Linked DNA regions of Homo sapiens: regions 1, 3, 4, 5, 6 and 7 are each linked to region 2. Evidence: promoter capture Hi-C in 16 types of primary human blood cells and fetal thymus (Javierre and others, 2016). All regions are on one chromosome and are shown on one strand. Each heading gives the region's core, a stretch centred on a gene start or on the middle of the fragment in contact. The rest is flanking DNA. Distances are from core to core; before and after follow the strand shown. Region 1 holds the start of COX6C (cytochrome c oxidase subunit 6C). Region 2 holds the start of PABPC1 (poly(A) binding protein cytoplasmic 1). Region 3 overlaps SPAG1 (sperm associated antigen 1). Region 4 overlaps LOC124901993. Region 5 overlaps LOC107984005 (a long non-coding RNA gene). Region 6 holds the start of FBXO43 (F-box protein 43). Region 7 has its middle 33 kb from the start of LINC02844.

Evidence for each region. Contacts are between HindIII fragments. The CHiCAGO score rates a contact against its expected background, and 5 or more counts as called.
Region 1: the fragment with the promoter of COX6C here is called in contact with the fragment with the promoter of PABPC1 in region 2 in 2 of 17 cell types (fetal thymus and naive CD4 T cells); the score reaches 5.4 in fetal thymus.
Region 3: a fragment that was not itself captured here is called in contact with the fragment with the promoter of PABPC1 in region 2 in 1 of 17 cell types (neutrophils); the score reaches 6.9 in neutrophils.
Region 4: a fragment that was not itself captured here is called in contact with the fragment with the promoter of PABPC1 in region 2 in 2 of 17 cell types (total B cells and naive B cells); the score reaches 5.7 in total B cells.
Region 5: a fragment that was not itself captured here is called in contact with the fragment with the promoter of PABPC1 in region 2 in 2 of 17 cell types (total B cells and M0 macrophages); the score reaches 6.7 in total B cells.
Region 6: the fragment with the promoter of FBXO43 here is called in contact with the fragment with the promoter of PABPC1 in region 2 in 8 of 17 cell types (neutrophils, naive CD4 T cells, non-activated CD4 T cells and 5 more); the score reaches 12.5 in neutrophils.
Region 7: a fragment that was not itself captured here is called in contact with the fragment with the promoter of PABPC1 in region 2 in 13 of 17 cell types (total B cells, naive B cells, fetal thymus and 10 more); the score reaches 13.7 in total B cells.

The regions. Positions count from the first base shown.
Region 1 is chr8:99,892,117-99,895,151 of GRCh38, forward strand. COX6C (cytochrome c oxidase subunit 6C) reads right to left here and starts at 1,591. Exons shown (of 4, transcript NM_004374.4): 1 at 1,523-1,591. RefSeq lists enhancers at 433-1,081, 1,082-1,729 and a silencer at 1,203-1,372. The HindIII fragment of the contact is 2,962 bases long and covers 1-2,589 here.
Region 2 is chr8:100,720,724-100,723,778 of GRCh38, forward strand. PABPC1 (poly(A) binding protein cytoplasmic 1) reads right to left here and starts at 1,365. Exons shown (of 15, transcript NM_002568.4): 1 at 668-1,365. The coding sequence starts at 860. RefSeq lists silencers at 542-651, 1,332-1,411, 1,492-2,201 and enhancers at 604-1,436, 1,491-1,991, 1,992-2,492. The HindIII fragment of the contact is 6,173 bases long and covers 1-3,055 here.
Region 3 is chr8:100,190,578-100,193,723 of GRCh38, forward strand. It overlaps SPAG1 (sperm associated antigen 1), which reads left to right. Exons shown (of 19, transcript NM_003114.5): 9 at 813-919. Among named protein-coding and RNA genes, the nearest start is that of SPAG1, 34 kb to the left of the region's middle. The HindIII fragment of the contact is 9,407 bases long and covers 1-3,146 here.
Region 4 is chr8:101,312,554-101,315,945 of GRCh38, forward strand. It overlaps LOC124901993, which reads left to right. Exons shown (of 6, transcript XM_047422526.1): 2 at 1,523-1,758; 3 at 2,814-2,963. The coding sequence starts at 2,854. Among named protein-coding and RNA genes, the nearest start is that of LINC02844, 51 kb to the left of the region's middle. The HindIII fragment of the contact is 6,164 bases long and covers 1-3,392 here.
Region 5 is chr8:101,244,907-101,248,299 of GRCh38, forward strand. The region is part of intron 1 of LOC107984005 (a long non-coding RNA gene); the gene reads left to right. Among named protein-coding and RNA genes, the nearest start is that of LINC02844, 16 kb to the right of the region's middle. The HindIII fragment of the contact is 2,102 bases long and covers 875-2,976 here.
Region 6 is chr8:100,144,127-100,147,301 of GRCh38, forward strand. It overlaps FBXO43 (F-box protein 43), which reads right to left and starts at 1,691. Exons shown (of 5, transcript NM_001029860.4): 1 at 925-1,691. The coding sequence starts at 1,009. RefSeq lists an enhancer at 154-303 and a silencer at 1,415-1,874. The HindIII fragment of the contact is 15,929 bases long and covers 1-3,175 here.
Region 7 is chr8:101,293,959-101,297,184 of GRCh38, forward strand. No RefSeq gene overlaps it. Among named protein-coding and RNA genes, the nearest start is that of LINC02844, 33 kb to the left of the region's middle. The HindIII fragment of the contact is 5,723 bases long and covers 1-3,226 here.

The sequences.
Region 1 (3,035 bases), core at 341-2,840, 830 kb before region 2:
CACCTGGAAGCATTGATTGGAGCTGCCCTGAATATACACTCCGATTAGCAGCAGTTACAAATGAATGTTTTTCTTTTTTGGCAGAAACAGGGTCTAGCTATGCTCCCCAGGCTGGTCTTAAACTCCTGCCCTCAAGTGATCATCCTACCTCGTCCTCCCAAAGTGCTGGGATTCCGGCCTACAAGTGAGTTAAGAAAAAATGAGAGGCAATTCCTAAACTGTTTATCAAAAATTTACATTAAAATAACATAAGCTATTGACTGACTAAACGCTGTCCTTTATATCACAAATTCAGGAATAAGATTTGGGTTGAGACATGGGTGAGGGGCGGCACTGAAGTCCAATACTCAGGTCTCTGCGTCCTGCATACCTCATGTAGCTCTCACTACTCTGAGCTTTTTTTCCCTTTCTCGGGTAAAATAATAAAAGAAAAACTCAGAAAAGATATCAAAAGGAATTCTCATGCATAGTACATTTTACTACCTAGAGAGGCACAGCACGACAGTGGATGGATTCCTCCCACAAAGCCTAAGCTGTCTCTTGGCTTAGCCTGTTTCATCTTCCCCCCGCCCCCCATATACTGAGCGACCACCCTAAATAAACGCGACAAACTGCGGCACACTAGTAATGGACGAGCAAAGGCAACAAAAATCTTTCCAACAACAAGAAAAATAAGCAGTAGCTCCGCATTGGTAATTAACGATTGCAAACCCATTTATGCAACACTTTCTCTTCTAAAAATTTTCTGTCCACTCGTTAAACCTTCGCGACAACCCTGTCAGATCATGAGGCAGGTGTTTTCCACGGTCACACGGTATACCATTAAAACCTGGACGGGAACGCGGCAAATACCATGAGGGCCCAAATTCCCTAACTGCTCCTTTGCCCAGCCTCACCTAAAGACCTAAGGGGCCTAAAAACTTTTGCGTCCCTGCTGGCCTTCAGCTAACGCGGCCGGGGGTAGGATGGGAAGCCGTGGGGCAAGGGAGGTTGCAGGAAGCCCATCCTTCCCCTCCTGCGGCAGGTACGGTGACCCTCCTCCAGTTTTCCAGCTCTAATTTAAAACGCTGCCACACAGCGAGCGACGCTGCCAGCTGCTTCGCCTACACTAACCCTTGCGCCTCACGACCAGCTGCATTAGAAACCACCACCCCTTTTCTCACGGGAGAAACACCGGGGCCAGATAGGTCAAATGACCTCACCAAGGTCACAATGGCTGTGAAAAAGCGCAGCGGGTACCAGCCCCGGGCCAGCTCACTCCGAAGCCAGCTGGGTTCTCGAGGGTCCCGCAGCCCACCCGGCTTCGGTGGGGCCGTCGCAACCCACCCCGGTCCGTGGTCCGCCCGCCGCCCTCCCTCAGGCCGCAGCGGAAGCGTGAGAGAGTAGATGCGGGAGAGGCCTGAAGCTGCACCACGGCGGAGACACACAGTCACGACTAAATCCGAGGCAGAGAGAAAGCGGGAGGGTGCCGTTGTGACAACCCGCAGTGTCGGGGTAGGGATGCAAAAGGGACCGGACTCACCTCAACACCAACGTCCTTCCTGACTAAAGGAAAAACGAACCGTGCTGTAGCCGCGCGCAGGCGCAGAATAAGAGTGCACAGCGAGAACGCGGCGACGGTAGCCGAAGGAGTTCAAAAGACCTCTAGTGCGCCCACCGCAGGTGACAGCCGAAGTTCATTTCGTGGTCTGCTTCTTTCCTGTGTGACCTTGCAAAACGGGCTTGACCTCCTTATTTATCGACCTCTTTATCTTCTTAGTAAATTGAAGATATTAGTCGTACTCATACACAGAGTCCCAAACCATGTGCACAAACCGACATTTTAATTATAACCAACCTTACGCGAATAACCGTTTGGCTTGGGTAAAAGTGAAAAAGCTGACTTCTAGGAGCTCACAGCCCAGAAGATGAAAAAGACAAACAGATTAATACCGATCCCATGCAGTGGGCACTACCACAGAGACGTGGCCCAGCTACTGCAGAAGCAATTCTCTACCTGGCAAAGCTGAGGACGTTTTGATAGAGGGGCGGTATTTTTGTGGGTTTCTTAAGAAAACAAGGATTTTGAAGGAAGGCAACTGGAAGTTCGTGGAAAGTGGTGTAGAAGGGTGAGGCTCTTGTGCCTTAATGATGCCAGGCTGTTTGTATTGAAATAACCTGAATTTTAAAAGCATTATTTAAGTCAACCCATCAAGCCCTGTGGAAGGTAGCTGGGACACAACAGATGCATGATATTGAGTCGATATATACACTGAGTACCTACTATGTGCCAGATTCTGCTAAACAAGAGGACAGATCTTCGGGGAGTCTCATTCTGATCAGGGAGTCTTTGTCCTCAACCTATTAACCAACACTCTGGAGGGTGAAACCTGGCCACAAAGAAAGGTGCTCAATTGAGGTTCAAAAGTAGGTTTGGACTTTACCAACGTTTTTCAGGCCTCTTATCAAGGGTCTACCCAGCTGAAAATCTTTGCATGGAATTTGTCCAGAGAGTAATTTGTTTCTATTCTCTTTCCATCCCCACCCCCAGAGAAGAAGTGGTGAACTTAAGAGTTCACAGGGATTAGTGTATGTGAAACCATCAGGGAAAGCTTCAGACAATACGTGGAAGAGATGGAAGCAGAGCTGAGTTTCAGTCTAATGGAAAGCCTGGAAAACTGGAGAAATTGGAGAGAAAACATTGGCTGGGAGAACATGGCAAAGACAGGCACACTCAGGGCACAGAGCCTGACCTGAGTGAAATACTGAGTGTTTGTTCTGTGCTTCCCTAGCTATCCAGTGAACCATAGTGAATGACTGAGGGTGACACGTGAATAAAACCTGAGCGATAGATGAAGAGAGACATGTTACATATAGGTTCTGTTCTAGAGCCGAACAGACCTGGATTTGAGTCCCAGCTCATCAACTTGTAGCGGCAAATTTCTTCATCTTTCTAAGTCTGCTTTCTCCTCTAAAAATAGTACCCATTTTGTTGGGTTGTGATGTAAATTAAATGGGATAATGTATATGCAGCTTGAGTATCCCTTATCTGAAAT
Region 2 (3,055 bases), core at 115-2,614:
GGGAAACCCCAAATGCATGTCTCCGGTAAATTCCATTCCTAGATCCATCAGTCACTGATGAGTTCTGGGAAGTGGACTCACAAGCCTGAGGACCACCACCACACCACACATCGCCACAGGAACTTTATCCTAAGGCCTGGTGGCTCCCCCAGGCGACTGGGCCAGGAGCAGGAGCAGAAGCAGGCCTCGGGCCTGCGAGGTTACAGGGTTCAACACGTGGTATTTTTCGAGCACAGAACTGCACTTCCTCCCCAGGCTGGGGCGCCGGCAGGAGCTCCGGGTGGTGGGAGCGCCTCCACCTCTTACCCACGGAAGGAGCTCAGCGTTCAACGCCCCAGAATCCCGGGGCCACTGGCGGGAGCGCCGCGGAGGAACCGAATCTCACCCACCCTCCCGGCGCGTCATCACCCTAAAGTTTGAGAGCGTCTGAGGCCGAGAAAATGGTCGCAAAGGAGGAAGTAGCCGGGCGTGTGGCTGCCGGCAGCGCGGGTCCCCGCCGGCTCGGGAAACGCGGCTCCAGGGACCCCGGCGCCTTCCCGCCGGCCGTCGCGGGGTGACATGCCCTCCCGCCCCCCTCCCCGGGCCCGCCGGCCTACCCCGCCCGCCGCCGCCGCCCGAGCCTCATGGCCGCCCGCCCGCCCGGCCGACCGCGGAGCCCGGCGCTCACCGTCCGCCGGCTGCTGGAAGTTCACATACGCGTAGCCCAAGGAGCGGCGGGTGATCATGTCCCTGCAGACCCGGATGGAGAGGATGGGCCCGGCCGGGCTGAACTTCTCGTAGAGCATCGCCTCGGTCACGTCGGGGTGGAGGTCCCCCACGTAGAGCGAGGCCATGGGGTAGCTGGGGGCACTGGGGTTCATCTCGGCACGGCTGCCCGCAGGGCCACAGGCCGCGACCTTTCCGTGAGAGGAGGAGAGCGAGTGCCGGGGCTGGGGGCCGGAGCCGGGGGGAGGGGAGCGGGGAGCAAGCGCAGAGGGACAAAAATCAACCGGAATTGAAAACTACTCAACGGCCGCAGAACGGGGTCGATCCACTGCCGCTGGCTGCCGGCTGCCGGCGGGGAGCGAGGGTGGCGGTGTCGGGTCCGGGCAGCGGGAAGGCCTCGGTCTCTTGGTTCCTTCTTGGAGCTGCTGCGGGGCCGCGGGCGGGCGGGTCGGTCTCGGCTGCTTCACCGGGTTATTTTATAAAAGAGGAAGAAAAAAAATAAAAGTCTCCGGCGGGGGAGACGCGGATTTTTTGTAAATTTTTTTGGGGTTTTTTAAAAGATTTTTTTAGATTTTTTTTGGATTTTTTAATAATAAATGTGTGTTCCGAGCCCGGAGCACACACTCCGCACTCTCAGCACTAACCGCCGGGGAGAAGGGGAAGCACCGCCTCCTGCACCCTCTACTTATACCCCGCGCCGCACTCGCCCCGCCCCCGCGCGTCTGACGCCAGGGCCCCTACGCGAGCGTCAGCGCCGGAGTAGGAGGAGACGCGGAGGCCAGGGGGAGGAGGGAAGAGAAAACAGGAGGAAAGAGCAGAGAGGAAGGGAGAGGTGGCGGCGGTGGAGGCTGCGGTGTGGGGGTGGGGCTCGGGCGAAGGGGCGGGGCTTTTGCGCAGGCGCCGCGGCCGGGGAAGCGGAGCCCGCGCTGCGTCGCGTCCGTGGGGGTGGGGAGGACGGCTCGCGGGCGGTCCTCGGGGGTGTTGGCTGAGGCGTCCCCGCCTTCCGCCCCGCCCGCCCCTGCCTCCACCAGGAGGAGCGTTAACCCGTCACCGCGGCGGTGGGCGGTGCAAAGGGCTTCCGGGTTCCTCCGCGCTAACCACCCCCCACGTGCGCGGCCGCCTGTGGCCTCTTCCCGCTGCGGCCGGCCCGGCTCCTCTAGCCCCAGCTCCGGGGGACGCCGGGCACGGGTGAGCGGGCGTGGTCCCCTCCGGGCCCGGTTTCCGAAACGTGCGTAGATGGAGCCAGCGTGGCCCCCTGCTCTCTCCTACCCGGACCGCACTACGAGTCCCAGCCGGCACCGCCGCCACGCGCGTCGGCCGCAGAAGCGGTGCCTGCTGGGAGCTGGAGTCCCCAACGGCCGCGGCGCTCGCTGACACCAACTGGCTGCGCGGGTCCTGGCCGCCCGCTCCGGGACCCCCCAACCGTCCTGCGCGCTGGACCCCGGCACCGCTGGAGCTCCCGGCGCGGGGTTGGGGGGCAGGGAGAGAGAGGGGAGGGCCCCTCGGGTTCCTCGTCCTCTTCTTTTCCAGCCCGACCCTCCTCCGTGTCTTCACTGGACGTTGTCGTTGGTCAAAGTGGCTTTAATTTGGGATAGCTGTGTTGGGGGTCTTTGGTCACTTCTTACCTTAAGGTGCTAGGCTGGAATCATTGATTTGTGCTGCTTCTGCCAGACATTTCTTGGCGATAGAAACCAGGAGTGGAGAAAAGTGAATGTTTTTCCTGAAAGTACGGGTTTGTCACAATCACTACTATATGGCACCACAGCCCTGCAACCAGACAAAATTAGGAATAGTCTAAAACAACGTCCTTATAAATAACTAAAACAATTCTGCACATTAGTAGTGGGTTTTAATAGGAATGCTAAATTTAACGAATTGATAGTAATAAAAACCGGCTCTAGGAATGACATTAAATCAACATACAAATTCCACTCGAAAGTAGTAAAGTGCTTTTACAGTTTTTAAAGCACTCGCGTAAACATACTATCATTTGTTCCTGAGAGCAATCTGGTGTGGGAGGTGGAGCAAGTAGTAATAATTTTACTTTACTGTTACAGGAACAGTCTCAAAGAAGTTAAATGATTGCCCAATTTATTCCTTAATTCAATAAACTTTAATGGATGTCAACTGTATTGCTAGGTGTGGAATTAAGTACTTTATATCTTGTCTCATTTAATTAGAATTTAAACCAGTGGAATCCCACATAAATACTATTTTGCTCCTATTAAAAAGAGGATAAAATGTGACCGGGCGCGGTGGCTCACTCCTGTAATTCCAGCACTTTGGGAGGCTGACGCACGCTGATCACTTGAGGTCAGGAGTTCGAGACCAGCCTGGCCAACATGGTGAA
Region 3 (3,146 bases), core at 557-3,056, 530 kb before region 2:
CTAATCATTTTAGAGATTGCTATACAGATGTCACTAATGAGCCACATTCTGAGCTAGATGCTGGTCAGTAATATACTTTTTTTTTCTTTTTTTTTTTTTTTTTTGGAGACAGAGTCTTGCTCTGTCACCCAGGCTGGAGTACAGTGGCACAATCTTGGCTCACTGGAACCTCCACCTCCCAGGCTCAAACAATTCTCCTGCCTCAGTCTCCCGAGTAGCTGGGATTACAGATGTGTGCTACCATGCCAAGCTAATTTTTTTTTTGTATTTTTAGTAGAGATGGGATTTTGCCATGTTGGCCAGGCTGGTCTTGAACTCCTGGCCTCAAGTGATCTGCCCACCTCAGGCCCCCAAATTGTTGGGATTACAGGTGTGAGCCACTGTGCCTAGCCAATATACTAAATTTTGATAAGGGATTTTATGTTTTCAAAAAGTGGCTAAATAATACTCGCCATAATTATAAAAAGGAAAGGATTATTATCAGTGAAAATCATTCCGATATTGCAATACAATGTGTTGCCTGTGAAGGGTTGAGGTATGAAATCTCTTAGTTCTTGGAAAAGCTGGCGGGGCCTGGGGCTGCCAGAGGGCCAGAGGGTTGTTATAGAGGGGACAGCTGGCTGATGTAGCCTCTTTTATGTACCTCAGTGTCATCTCCTATGTGTGTATCAACATGAAAAAGGGTGTAGTTGAGCTTTGGGTAATTACATCCTAAAGTATTCTGTGCTGCTCATATCTTCCACTTGCCAAATATGTTGTAACCATAATGCCACATATTAAAAAACATAACTTTTATATTGGTAAATTTTCAGCTCTTCTGCGTCGTGCTACTACATATAAACATCAAAACAAGCTCCGGGAAGCTACAGAAGATTTGAGTAAAGTACTAGATGTTGAGCCTGATAATGATTTGGCCAAGGTAAGTATAGAATGTGATTTCTCACCTAATTCTGTAGTTGGCTGTTTCTGTATTTATTTTAAAGTGGTATCAATCTTGCCAAACAAATTATGTTGAAGATCAGGTCACAGCTTTAAAAGGTAGGTATATTCCAGACACCCCAAAACGTTAACATCTATTTCAAGTGGAAGAAAGCAGAATCTTAAAATTTTTTTTCAAAACTATAAACCTTCCTCTGAAAGACAAATATCAATTTTTCTTTTTCCTATAGTGTTGTAGGCAATGTTTTTCTCTGAGCCATGTGGAGTGGTATAGAAGGTACCTTCCTAGGTAGGATTAGGGGTGAACTCTGTGGCCATTGAAGAGTGTTTCTCTTTGTAATGAGCATGGTAGCATTTGCTACCTGACTGAGCAGACTGACTCAGTTATACACTTAGGGGATCTGTATTCACGCCTAAAGAGTAGAGGTAAGTGTCAAGAACTGAGATTTTCCCCTGCTTACAAATGAACAAGGTGGCCTACCAGAGGATACAAGATATCCTGAGTCAAACACGAAAAGACTTTGTCACTCCAAGCAGATGAGCTTCACGTTCATGTCAGTTCCCCTTGCTCCCAAGTCCCACAGGGGTGACATAGAGTGGCCCAGATGGATGTTGCACACTCAATGGATTTATGTGATGGCTGACAAATCAAAAATTTAGGAAACCAGCTGAGTGCAGTGGCTCACGTCTGTAATCCCAGCTCTTTGGGAGGCTGAGGCAGGCAAATCACCTGAGGTCAGGAGTTCAAGACCAGCCTGGCCAACACTGCACTCCAACTGGGGCAACAGAGTGAGACTCCATCTCAAACAAACAAAAATTTAGGAAACCTGCTTCTTTTATGATGGGATATAAGCAAACCTGCCCAATCTCTGCTCCATAGGGAAGCATCACCTTTATTACACTGGAGAGCCAACACACCTGCCCTCTCCGCTGCAGATGAATACTATTTCTGTTTGCCAAGGTTGTTCTCAGTACAAACATCCTTAGAGATGTCCAGAAAGAAGGTGGTTTAGTGCCTCTGCTGGCAGTATAGTCAGAAATAAGAGAAACCCATGGAAAAATTGTTACTAAGTTTCCACATACACCTATTGGGTTACCTATCCCACTGTCTCTGAGTGGCAGCTAATGTTCCTAGAATATCAGCTGCTTTGTCAAGTCAACATTTTAGGTTTAGGTTTAGGGCCTGGCTTAGTATTTCCTTTTTGTAATGGTTATGTTTATTTATTTTTGAGACAGGGCCTTGCTCTGATGCCTCAACTGTAGTGTGGTGGGAACATGGCTCACTGCAGCCTCCACCTCCTAGGCTCAAGCAATCCTGCCATCTCAGCCTCCTGTGTAGCTGAGACCACAGGTGCACGCCACCTCCCAAAGTGCTAGGATTACAGGCATGAGCCATTGTGCCTGGTTTCAAATGCATTTTTATCTTAACCATATGCAAAGATTAACTCAAAATGGATCATATACTTTTTGATGTAAGATATAAAATATAAAAGTTCTAGAAGAAAACATAGGAGAAAATCTTTATGACCTTAGACAAATATTTCTTATGTAAGACATGAAAAGTACAATCCATAAAAGAAAAAGTTGATATATTGGACTTCATCAAAATTTAAAACATATACTTTTCAAAGACACTATTAGAAGAATAAAAGACAAGCCACAGCTGGGCACGGTGGCTCACACCTGTAATCCAAGCACTTCAGGAGGCTGAGGCAGGCAGATCACTTGATCCCAGGAGTTTAAGACCAGCCTGGGCAAGACAGCTGAACTTCATCTCCACAAAAAATTTAAAAAGTTAGCCAGACATGGTGGTGTGGGCCTGTAGTCCTAGCTACTCGGGAGGCAGGGGTGGGAGGATAATTTGAGCCCGGGAGGTCAAGGCTGCAGTGAGCTGTGATTGCACCACTGTACTCCAGCCGGGGCAGCAGAGGGAAACCCTGTCTCAGAAACAACAACACCAACAACAACAAAACAAAACAAACAAAAAAGCCACAGACCACAGACTGGGAGAAAATATTTGAAAATCGTATATCCAACAAAGGATGATATATCTATTTTTCATCAGAGTCAGCATAAAATATTTCAGAATTTTCAGCATTACTCTAAAACAGTAATGTGGGCTGGGTGTGGTAGCTCACGCCTGTAATCCCAGAACTTCAGGAGGCTGAGGTGAGAGGATTGCTTGATCCCACCGTTTGAGACTAGAC
Region 4 (3,392 bases), core at 246-2,745, 590 kb after region 2:
GTTAAAGGCCAGCTTTGCCTATAAAGAGCCAGATAGTAAATATTTTAGGCTTTGTGGGCCATATGGTCTCTCTGTCCTTATAGCACAAAGACAGCCATAGATAATATGAACAGGTATAGCTATATTCCAGTAAAGTTGTGTTTATAAAAACAGGTAGTGCAATGGAGTTGGTCCATGGGCCATACTTTGCAGACTGCTGCTTAAAAGTGCCGCTCTGGAACCGAACTACCTGGGTTTAAATCCCAGCTCTGTTGCTTTGTGACTTAGAGTTACTCAATCTCTCCATAATTCAGTTTCTTCATTTGTACATTGGGGGTGAAATGAAGTAAAGTATATAAAGCACTTGGGACTTCACCTGGTAGATAGATAATAATAAGCTCTGAATGTGTGTGTGTGTGTACACGTGTATGTGATTATAAATATTTTATATGTATATATATGAGATACATATTTTTCTTTTCTTTTTTTTTTTTTTTTTTGAGACACAGTCTCACTCTGTCGTCCAGTGCAGTGGCATGATCTCGGCTCACTGCAACCTCCGCCTCCTGGGTTCAAGCAATTCTCTTGCCTCAGCCTCCCGAGTAGCTGGGACTACAGGCGTATGCCACCATGCCCTGCTAATTTTTGTATTTTTAGTAGAGATGGGGTTTCACCATGTTGTCCAGGCTGGTCTCGAACCCCTGACCTCAGGTGATCCACCCACCTCGACTTCCCAAAGTGCTGGGATTACAAGCATGAGCCACCAAGCCTGGCCTATATACTTCACATATATATATATACACACACACATGAAATAAGCTAAGTTAACTTATTGAGCAACTATCTCTCTGTCAGGCATTCCAGTAATAATCGTTTACTGGACAAAGCCTAATTGTTACTGGAATTTCTAATGGACAGTAGTGCTCACTAAATATTGCCTAAGTGGTGAACAGATAAATGCACTCTTCTCATTTACATTTTACTCATCCTTCAAGTTCAAGGTTGAGTTCTCTTCCTTTAGGCGTCCTCCTTGGCAGCCCAGGCTCAGCCCATCTCTTCCTCTCTCCCTTCATGGCAGTTCACTGGGCATCACACTTGGCAGCCTTTGGTTCTCCAGAGCACTTTCCACCATCCCGCTTGTCACCACCTTCTTTCCGTGTTGATGTTGTTCACGGACTGTCTCCCTCAGTAGAATGTGAGCTCCTTACCATGGTTTGTCCAGTACCTAGGACAGTGCCTGTCAGGTGCTCAGTAATTGTTTATTGATTAATGAATGAATGAATGAACGAATGAATGAATCCTTTCTATTATTGCAACCTGTTGTTTTCATCATTTAACCTTTCTCTGTGTATGCTTTATCTCCCAAACTACAGACTAAGTTTTTTTAAAGTTACCTCTCTGATCAGCATTTCAGGATTACTATGAAGATCAAATTAAATTACATGTGGCAGTGTCTAGCTTGGAGTTTGGTGTATATTGATGTCAATTGCATATTCCTAATTCATACTTTCTTCTCTCCGTTTCATAAATATTTGTTTTCCAGGTATCACAGAAAGAATTGAAAGGCAAGGTTGTCAGACAGATATGGCAGCTAAGACACCAACTGAGGAATGTTATCAATGTAGCTCCGTGAAATTGCCATATTTTACATCCTGCAGTTCTGCAGTCAAGTGGTGGTATTTTTGTCACAGCCCACATCAAAGCCCAGATGGCATGAGGGAGGGATGGAAATGGGGCTCCATAACCCTCAGGAACTCTGAAGATTTCATCTCCTAAGTGGTATTGTCCATCTGTTTCTGCAACTTCCTTAGCAACTTGACAAGTAAATCCTTAAATAGTAACTGCCAGCAGTATTGCAGTTCTTTGTCTTTCTGACTAGGTATGAAAGCCAAGAAGGCAGCCCTTTGTAAATGGTGTCACTGTTTGAGATGTTTGCGGGCTGCTTGCTCTTCTAGATCCACATGGCCTTTCAGTTTGTCTCCACGGGAGGTCTATGCTTGGTCATGATCAGCTGACACTCATAAATCCTGTGTCTGGACATCTGTCACTCCTGCCAGTCCAGCATCCCTTTCTTGAAGTAGCAGCTACCTGATTTTCCTTGGGACCCCTCTGAGTCTCAGATTCAGAAGGCTAGGGTGGGCTCGGCACAGTAGCTCACGCTTGTAATCCTAGCACTTTGGGGAGGCCAAGGCTGGCAGATCACCAGGTCAGGAGTTCAAAACCAGCCTGGCCAACATGGTGAAACCCTGTCTCACCTAAAAGTACAAAAAAAATTAGCCGGGTGTGGTGATGGGCACCTGTAATCCCAGCTACTCAGAAGGCTGAGGCAGGAGAATTGCTTGAACCCAGGAGGTGGAGGTTGCAGTGAGCCAAGATCGTGCCATTGCACCCCAGCCTGGGCAACAGAGTGAGACTCTGTCTCAAAAAAAAAAAAAAAAAAAGAAGGCTAGGGTGAAGAAGGTGCCCTTTGGATAATTATTTATTTAGGGAACTATCCTGAGAAGTATGTCTCCTTTTAAAAGAAATATGTGAAAATAATGTTTGTTCTCACAACTTCGATCTCCTGGATAGTTCTGTCTCTGAAGAGATTTTTTTATTGTTGTTGTTTTTCTTAAAAACAGAGAAACATTTTGTTAGACATTGTAGTTTGATTGAAAGTCGGCTGGCCAGGCCTGCAGAGATGATGAGTATGTTCAGACATCGAATAGATTTCTTGTCTTAGATGATGTTTTTCAAATCAGAGCTTTGTGGTTTTACTTTATGATTTTTTTCAGATGACTCTGGTTACGGTCACCACCAGAGTGCTCAGTGCTGTTTACTATTCAACTCCGCAGGAGCCAGAATCCAGACGCTGGGAAATGTGAATGTTCCAATATGGCTGACCATCATGGAATGGGATCAACAGATGGAAATAGGAGGCTTCATCTTCTTCATCTTGGTCCTGAGGCTCCATCAGCCAGGTTTCCAGCACACATTAAACCCAGGTATAACAACGACATGGCCCAGATTTTTCAATCTTCATTTCAAAAGTGTCCCTTTGTCTCCCTCTATATCTGGTTGGTCAGCTGTCTTGATTTTTGCGTTGGGATCCAAAGTTACTACAAAACTAGCGCAATTGGTTTAATATCTTCATTAACTGAATTCTTGGGTCCTCTGCCCATCTCCTTTCTCCTTCATAAGTTCCTCTTGTTCTTCCTGCCTCTGGAATATGGGTCTTGGCTTTCAGCCATTCCCATGGCAAATTAACCCTTCAATCTTAATGACCACTGTAGTGGACAATGTTAGTGCTTTTTTTTTTTTTTTCTTTGAGACAGTATTTAGCTCTTGTTGCCCAGGCTGGAGTGCAATGGTTGCTCACTGCAACCTCTGCCTCCCGGGTTCAAGTGATTCTCCTGCCTCACTCAGCCTCTTGA
Region 5 (3,393 bases), core at 676-3,175, 520 kb after region 2:
TTGGGAAGCTGAGGTAGGAAAGTCTCTTGAACCTTGGAAGCGGAGGTTGCAGTGAGCCGATATTTTGCCACTGCACTCCAGCCTGGGTGACAGAGTGAGACTATGTCTCAAAAAAAAAAAAATTTTGAGAGAAAAAGTATGAATATTACAAGCTCTACCCAAACTGGTCTTGATTAACATAGTTTTCTTCCATTTTCAAATAGATAACTTGGTTTTCTGGCTGGTGTTCCAATCACTGATGAGTGCATTCCAGCAGCTTTCTAACTGCTTTGTCTCTACGGCTTCCTGCTTGTTAATCCATCTTACTCTCACCATCAGTTAATGAACCAGAAGTGCTGCTTTTGTTATCTTATTTTCCTGTTATAAAAACAGTAATTCTCATTCCCCATTACTACTGAAGAGTGTCCAAGCTCTTAACAGGATATAGTAGATGGACTGAATTGATGTTGCCAGCTAAAAACCTCACTGTATCCATACCCATTGCAGTGAGATTTTTGAAAATCTCTCATCATAAGGTAGAATCTACTTCTCCCTCCCTTGAATATCAGCTTGCCTTGTGCCTCAAGAGGCCTTGCAGCTGCCACTGTGTTTCAGAACCCTCTCATGAGAATGCAAGCCTGGACTAGCCTGCTGGAGGAAGAGAAATCATGAGAGGGGAGCCTCATTGTCCCAATTGAGTCTAATCTTAGATCAGCCTTGTCTGGGGGAGGGGGAGGAGTCCTCTGGCCACCCACATGTTTGATGACTCACTAGAAGGACTCCCAGGACTCAGAGTCAGTTGTGCTCATGGTTATAGGTGATCAAAGGATACAAGACAGCATCAACAAGGGAAAAAGTCACATCAGTCTGGAGGAGTTTAAGTGCAGGCTTCCAAAGCTTTGTGTCTGGTGCAGGAGGTGGATTACACAGAACACACTTTTTCTTCCAGCAATAAAATTAAGTAACACATACACAATATTTCTGACTAGGGAAGCTGACTGGAGGCTCAGAGTCCTGGGATTTTATTGCAGAAATAGGCAGAGGATGCCTATGTGATCAGCCACAATTACTGAAATTCCAGTCCAGTGTAAATCACAGTGTTTGGATAAACATTCTAGGCAAGCTGGTGTGGTAGGATTCAGTGCCGTGGGCATGCCAAACAGCCTTATCAGTTAGGTGGTAGATAGAAGGATAGAATAAAGGCCCTTTGAAGGTGGTTAAGTTTCTATACCCAGAACCTGTTCATATGTTACCTTACATGACAAAAGGGACATTGCACATATGATTACATTAAGGATCTTGAAATGGTAAGATTTTCCTGAATTATTCAGGATTAAAGTCAGCAAGGGCAAGATAAAGGAAGTAGAGCGCAGAGATCCGCTGAAGGAGGGAGAGATTTGAAAATGCTTTGGTGCTGGTTTTGAAGATAGAGGAAGTGGTCATGTCTTAGTCCTTTTGTGTTGCCATAAGGGAATAGCTGAGGCTGCGTAATTTGCAAAGAAAAGGGGTTTATTTGGCTCACAGTTCTGCCAGCTGTACAAGAAGCATGGCACCAACATCTGCTTTTGACGAAGGCCTCAAACTGCTTCCACTCATGTCAAAAGGCAAAAGGGATCCTCTGTGTGCAAAGACTGTGTGGCAAGAGAGTAAGCAAGAGAGGAAGGGAGGTGCCAGGCTCTTTTCAATAACCAGCTCTTTTAGGAACGAATAGTGTGAGAACTCACTCATTACTCCAAATCCTACACCAAGCCTTTCATGAGGGATCTGATCCTATGACCCAAACACTTCCCAGTAGGCCCCACCTCCAACATCGGGGATCAAATTCAACATGAGGTTTGGTCCAACATCCAAACCATAGTGTGTCATGGGCCAGGGAATGCAGATGGTCTTTAGAAGTTTGAAAAGGAAGAAAATGAATTATTCTCCAGAGCCTCCAGAAGGAATGCAGTCCTTCTGATCCATTTTAGACTTCTAATCTCCAGAGCCCTAATATATAAAATATTTGTGTTGTTTTAAGCTACTAAGTTTATAGTAATTTGTTATATCAGCAATAGAAAACTAATATAAATAGTAACATAGGAAGCATTCCAAAAGCAAAGGTCCTAGAAACCAGCCAAGGGTCAGCTCTATAAGCAGGTCCTTTGGAGGAGCAACATCATCAGAACTACAATATTTAACTCTTTCCTATAAAAGCCTACAGCCAGACAATCACCAAAAATGTGAGAGGGACCAGCCAAGATCAGCAGAACAGCCTGCCTGACTGCAGAAATATGAGTGAGCCCAGTCAGGACCAAAATAACTTCAATACTGTGGGAAATAATATATCATTGTGGGCAATAATAAATGCTTTTTGTTTTAAGCCACTGAGTTTTATTGCAGTTTGTTATACAGCAATATCTAACTAATACATGGAATTCAAGGCTTTTGAGTAAACATGTAAGAGCCCAATCCATATATCATATCTTATCTCTTCTTCACAAACTTTGCTTTATTTATACTGATCTATTTAATGTCATCCAAACAATCTGTGTTCCTTCCTATCACTGTCCTTTTCTCCATGTCATCCTTGTATCTCAAGGCCTTTTCCATCCACATCTCTGCCTACTATTTCAGAATGTAATTGACAAGCATTTAGCATGCAATTTTTGTGAGCATCCAAGTTTTCAAGTCTAGTCAACTGATGCCATTTGGAATTTGGTTAGGATCATGAAGTGTGTTACTAGAATTAAACAGGCTTGTAAGTCATTGCCATCTGTAAGCTCTCAAAAGAACAAATACTTCAGAAAATACTTTCTGCACAGATGAGAAACTAGAGTTTGTGAGAGAGCTGCCAAAGTAATTTTTTATATTAGTGAGAAGGAGGCTTATTGATTATTTGAGTGCTTATAGAACTCTTATTTGTTCAGTCCCAGAGCTAAGCTGTCTGGTATACTCATTGGCACTTTGATTGTTTCTGTATTTATAAATGCTAAGAGCTTATCTGGCCCAGTGTTAGGAAGCTTGTTGTATATTTCATTGCTGTCTAAGAGTTAAAGCTAGCTGCAAAGTCTTGAAACCAGCCAGTGTTCTTAGGCAAGAACCACAAGTTGTGCTGACAATCACTAAATGGCGGGGTGGCAAATGGTCTTACTGGGTTGTAAAAATGAAATGCAACAACCTGTATTCATGGAGTGCTTACTATGTACTAAGCCTTGGGCCCAGCCATGGGCATACAGAAGTAAACAACACAGAAATAAATAACCTTTTGGAATTTATAATACAGTGTAAAAATAATAAAGTCTGGAGTAAATAATTTCTGTAAGTCAGCAATGAGATACAATGAGATACACAAGCATTTAAAGACGAAAAAAAATCTGACAATCATGATGTCATCCCAAGAATATCCCAGAATTCTTTGTGTAATGTAATGTATTC
Region 6 (3,175 bases), core at 441-2,940, 580 kb before region 2:
TGTCTCACAATGCTAGAATTTGGGAAACTCAGAGGCAAATTGTTAAAAACAAAGTGGGGAATGCAGATATTATCTCTTTCCTCTAAAATGTTATCCAAAAATCTATTCTGGCCGGTGGCTCACGCCTGTAATCCCAGCACTTTAGGAGGCCGCGGCGGGAGAAATGCTTGAGTCCAGGAGTTTAAGACCAGCCTGGGTAACATAGTGAGACCCCATCTCTTAAAAAAAAAATTGTTTCTGTTCATCTACACACTTGAAGTTGCCTCCAACGTCCTTTCTCTGCTAGCATTTTCATCTTTCTACTACCCCAAGACGTTGGTCTCAAACGTGGTTCTTCGCAACTGAATTTTAAAATTATTCATGTAAAATCATGGACTGTCTGTTGTATTTTATGGACTCAACAGTTCACGGATAAATCAATCAAGCCTCTTCGATATTCATTTTTAAAAACTAGGCTTCTGATAAAAGGCTGAGAAAACTTATTCCTAAAGTGTTCTTTAAGAAAAAAAAAAAAAAAAGCAGCGGCCGGGCGCGGTGGCTCACGCCCGTAATCCCAGCACTTTGGGAGGCCGGGGCGGGCGGATCACGAGGTCAGGAGAGCGAGACCAACCTGGCTAACACGGTGAAACCCCGTCTCCACTAAAAATACAAAAAAATTATCCGGGCGTGGTGGCGGGCGCCTGTAGTCCCAGCTACTCGGGAGGCTGAGGCAGGAGAATGGCGTGAACCCGGGAGGTGGAGCTTGCAGTGAGCCGAGATCGCGCCACTGCACTCCAGCCTGGGCGACAGAGCGACTCCGTCTCAAAAAAAAAAAAAGAAAGAAAAAAGAAAAAGAAAAAAAAGAAAAAGCACCTACCACATCAGAGAATGAAGTACTTACATTAAACCCAAATGTTCTTCATTTGTTAAAGTGGAAACTCTTACCATCAGTAAATCTTGAGCTCTTAGATGTCAAAGTTACGTAGGCTTCCAAACAAGAAATTCTCTCATCTTTGTCTTTAAAACTCATGCCAAAATAATGCCACTTAAAGAGGAAAACTTTAGTTTGCACAATTAATTGAAAGGTGCAGCAGCATCATGATTGCTCAAAGTCGAAGGGTACACAGGGTGCATGCCGCAGGGATTATTCCTAACACTTGAGAAGGTCTAAATCATTTTGAATTTCCTTCAGCCCTCCAGAAAATAGTTATCTTAATATCCTTGTTTTCTCCAGCTGGACTTAGACATGAGTAAACTTCCCAAATTCGGGTTCCTGAAAAGGCAGCGTGTGCTGCAGCCTGGCACTGACTCCCCCGAGGAGCTATGGCGGGCGGGTGGGTAACGGTCTCACCAGGGCGTCAAAGATCCGCTAGGCCCAGAAAGCCAAGGGCAGCAGGGGATGGGCTGGCGTCACCAGGAGCGGAGGAGTGAGGGCTGCCGCGCGCCTCCCTAGGCCCAGCACCTGGAAGACACAGGGCGACGCGGGGCCGGGCCGCCGGGAGACCCGCTAACGGGCACTCGCCTGGGGTCCCGCCGCCTGCCTGGAGGCCGCGGGGCCGGGCGAGGCGCCGAAGCGGACAGGTGGGAGAGGAGCCGGGCAGCAGCCGCTGGATGGGCCGGGGAGAAGCCTCGGCCTCGCCCCCTGGGATGCGGGCTATGGCAACCCCCACGCCAGCTTCGCGTGGGGCCGCTGCCTTTACCTCCTTAGGTTTGAACGGCCCGCCCGGGGTAACCGCTAAGCGCAGCCCCGCCCCGCGCCGCGCTGTCCCGCCCCTTCCTCCGGCTCTGCAGCGCTCCCGCCCGGCCGCCCGCAGGCCTGGGTCCTCGCTTGAGCGGGAGGAGCGCCCCCTCTCTCGCTCACCCCTGCACCCGTCCCGAGGCGGGTCAGAAAGGCTCTGCTTCTCCCCATTCCCACTTTGGGAAGCATTACCGTATTTAGGAATGCTAACGTGGCCTACAGTGGGATGCCATTAGAAATCATGTATGAGAATGTTCCCTTGGAAATGATTCTCCAAACTGTCAAGTGCAAAAAGCAAGTTACAAACTGACCCCTTTTAGGTTAAAAATATGGATATACACAGGATGAGGTCTGAAAGGTATGAATAACTTGGATACGGTAAATTTGTACAGGATTATGTTTGCTTTTTAGTTCTTTTTATCTGTGTTTTCTTCTCATGTTTCAACAATGAATATATACAGATTTTGTGATAAAAAAGCTGAGCCGGGCCTGGTGGCTCACATCTGTAATCCCAGCACAGAGGTGGGAGGATCACTTGAGCCAAGGAATTTGAGACCAGCCTGGGCAACATAGTGAGACCCCCATCTCAAAAAAAAGATTTTTAAAAAATCTATTCATAAAAACCAGAGTGAAATGTGTTCATTGTTTACAAACATCCATTTTTGGGCATCATGAACTCCCAAGTACCCTCAAAGCCAAATAAATTTTTTAAACCCTAATTTTTTCATTCAATAAATATTTACTGGGCGTCTATTATATGCCAGGGACACTCCTGCTGCTCTTGGCAGCTTCTTCCTAGTCTCCTTTTTCTGGCTTCTTTTCCTTGGCCTACTCCCTAAATGAGAGGTCCTACCTCAGCATTTTTATTAGTTTATCATCCCATGCTTATGTAATTCTTATTCAGAACTTCAACCATCACTTTTAAGCCAATAACAGGCACTACCACCACTCTTCTCTGACTGGACATTTCTCCAACTGGATGTCCCTCAGTCATCCAAAACCAAACTCACTAAAATTATTATGAGACAGGGTCTCGCTCTGTCACGCACGCTGGAGTGCCGTGGTGCAATCTTGGCTCACTGCAACCTCCACCTCCCAGGTTCAAACGATTCTCCTGCCTCAGCCTCCCGAGTAGCTGGGATGACAGGCACCCGCCACCACGCCTAGCTAATTTTTGTATTTTCAGTAGAGACGGAGTTTTGCCAGGTTGGCCAGGCTGGTCTCGAACTCCTGACCTCAGGTGATCCACCTGCCTCAGCCTCCCAAAGTGCTGAGATTACAGGCATGAGCCACTGTGCCCGTCCACTAACAGTTATTAAATTCCAACTATGTGCCAATTACTGTGCTAGGTACTGGGAATACAGAGCTGACACAGCCACAGTTACTGCTGTTAAGGAGCTCATTGGTATAGAGCAAGTGCTGTAACAGAGGAACAGTAGCAGCACAAAGGAAAGAAGA
Region 7 (3,226 bases), core at 702-3,201, 570 kb after region 2:
ACACACACACACACACACTAGATGTGATATGTGGTTAATGGAAAAATAGCATCAGAGACACCGCATTCATTAACAGAAATGAATTTCGTTTGGCATTTTCTTCTTTGGTCTTCTTGATATCTATCTTATAGCTACATGCAGCACCTGTGGGCTGATAAATAATGTAGTCAAAGAATTCTGCAAATCCAGAAAGGTCACTGTTTATACATCATCTGTCTGTCAAGTAAAATTCTTGGTTCAAAGCAAAAAAGCAAGTTTATTTTGGGAATTGGTAACTTGGAATAACAGCTGCAAAAAGAAATGAGAAATAAAGACCCATCACTTAATTCTTTTTCTAAATATTCATCTGAAGCCAAATTTCATCAAATTTGATTGGTTTTAAGGAGAAAAATCTTGCCAGATGGAAACATGAAGATTGGAAAAGCAACAGAACTTGGATTTCAGAACTGTGGGGGATTTATAGAAGCATTTGTTAACAACTGAGGATATGCACAGCCTGGGTGGGTGTCAGCTCAACTGTGTGACCTGGTGTCCCCAGCCCAGCCATCCTTGTCTGCACAGCTGAGGAGGTTAATGATGATGGAGAGACTTAGGGGTACTCCCCGCACTCTCTCCTGAGATCCCAGAGCAATCCTGATTGTGGCCGTAAATATTTATGTAGAACCATCGCTTCTCGCCTCCAAGCTGGGAATGACTTCGCATTGAACTTCAGCCCTGCCTGCCCCAGATTGACCGTGGCTTCCTGAATCTTACATTGCAGCAGCTCCTTCCTGCCCACTTTCTCCCTGTGCTATCAGGGTGACCTGCAGCAAATGTTCTCACACAGAATCCTCAAACAACCTCCAGCACAAGGCAGGTGATACCCTCGTTCTCCCATGGGGAAACTCCAGCCTAGAGGTCAGGGGACTTGACAAAAGCACACATGAATGGTAGAGCCAAGCCTGCCTGTCTGCAAATTCCTACTTTTGGTCTCTCTGCTGCCCTTTCAGCCCTGCCCCCAGGCTTCAGTTTGGGAGGCCCCTCATCTGCACCTCACCCCCAGTGCCTCTGTCCTCACCTGTGCAGTGCTGGTTTGCAGGTTAACACCTGCAGGCTCCTCTGGGGCACATTACTCTTGCTTGCTGTGTTCTGTGGCCACCACACTACCTTGGTTCTGGGGCTTGGCCGTTTTGAGGGTAGAATCTCTGAATGTCAGGGAATTCAGTCTTGAAAAATTTCCGCTTTGCTGGTAAAAGGAACGCCTCCATTCTTTTCTCAGCTCAAGCAAACGTAGATCACTGTCAGGGAACACAGTATCAGCAATTTCCCCTTCTCTTCAGAGCATGGGACTGGACTGGAGATCCCATCTTTGGCTTCAATATTAATATCCAGGGAGTTACCACTTCCTTTCTAAACAAGGGATGCTGCCTTTGGAGGATGGTGCCCTGATCTTGGAAGAGCCAGGTTACCCACGTTTACAGGGACTCTGTCAAATGAAAAGGTGAAGACCTCAGGCACAGAAAAGCTCCTGCTCCAGGCTACACTGATCTTTCCTAACCTCCTCAAACACAGCAGTCCTGGAGGGAAGCTAAGCAAAGACAGGCCTGCCTCATAGTTTTTTTCAAACCCATTCGTTTGATTTGGTTTTGATTAGAGTAGGCTAGTCAACAATGAGCAAAGCCTTTCACAAAAGCCAAAAACATACGGAAATTCCAAATTGGTGTTTAAAATTCAAAATTTGGCCCAAGAATCTTACTCTACAAGAAAGAAATCTGCATTTGTATATTCTTTCTCAGTTACTCGAGAACAGACTTCCGTATATTCTAATCAAAGGCCTTGGGTCCCAGAGGCTGTGTTGGTCTGGTTCCTGACAGCCCTTGAATTCCAGCTTCTAATCTTTTGCAGATCTCACTATGTGCAGACTAAACTAGAGATGTCTTCAAAGGCAGCTCTCTAGACTTGTATGTGCTGGCTGTTTTCTGGGCTCAAGTTCATGCCATGATTGTCTGACCCATCTTCCCTGGAGAGGCAGATTTCTTCCATTCCAGTCTTTAATCATTATCTGTGTTAGGCTTGACCAACCTTTCTGAAGGACAATTGATTTTAAATAGTAGTCACAGGCTTAAGTATAGTCTACAAAGCAGATTTTTATTACACTGTAGTGAAAGGGCACACATAAAAGTGCATGTGAATCACAGAAGGCAGGCGAGAGAAGGGGGTCAGCTCAGGACAGGAAGAGAATAAATTTGTCCACAAATTACATAATCCACAAATTACATAATACATTAGCAAGTAACACATTCGATCCCAAACTCTCAGGGAGAAAAAAGTAATTCGTTTTCATGTTCCCTTGTTTTATTTTTTCTTCTTAAATATTGAAAATGAGTTGTGATGAAAAGTCAAATGGCTTTAAACCCATGATCAATATCCATACTTGGAGACAATATTAAAACAAGCGATTTTAAAACCAGACAATATTAAAACAAGACAATGTTAAAACAAGAATGACTATTCTCCATTTCATTTCTCCTGTGATACTGTGACTGTAACTGCCATTGCTAACTAAAACATTTGGGTTGGCTTTCTCACATTTTAAAGCTCTTCTTATTTCTTTTGTCACCCCAACAACTCTGTGACTCCCATTTCAATGATCCCTGCTCCAGAGATGAGTAAACTCATTAGTTTATCACTATGCAGAGAGAGGGGTCTGAAATCAGCACTATGTGATGTGGATACTGACTGGGATTTGCAGATCGATGCCCCCTACATTTCTATCCTCAGATCCTGTAGAAAATAACTAGCTCACAATGCACATGGCAGTCATCAAATTCTGTTGTGGATGCCTGTTGCTACATAACAAACTACCCCCAAATTTAGAGGACTAACACTACAATCACTTTCTTCTGTCTCAGTTTTATAGATCAGGAATTTAGGGAGGACTTGGCTGCAGCCTGTGATATAGATAGGGAACATTCAGTGGCTATCAGCTGGCAGCTGGTCTGTCTGGAGGGTCAGGCCACACACACACCTGGTGCCTTGGTAGGGACAGCTGGAAGGCAATGCTCAGCTGAGCCCTTCTTCTTCTCCCAGGAGAGCCTCTCCATGTTGTCTCTCCAGCAAAGCAGTTGAGCTTCTTTCATGGAGGGCTCCCAGAGCCCGTGCTCTGAGCAACAGGAAATGAAAGTTTCCTGACTCTTAAAGCCTGGACCTGATCGAAACACTCACAGAACCTGCCTAGATTTAAGGT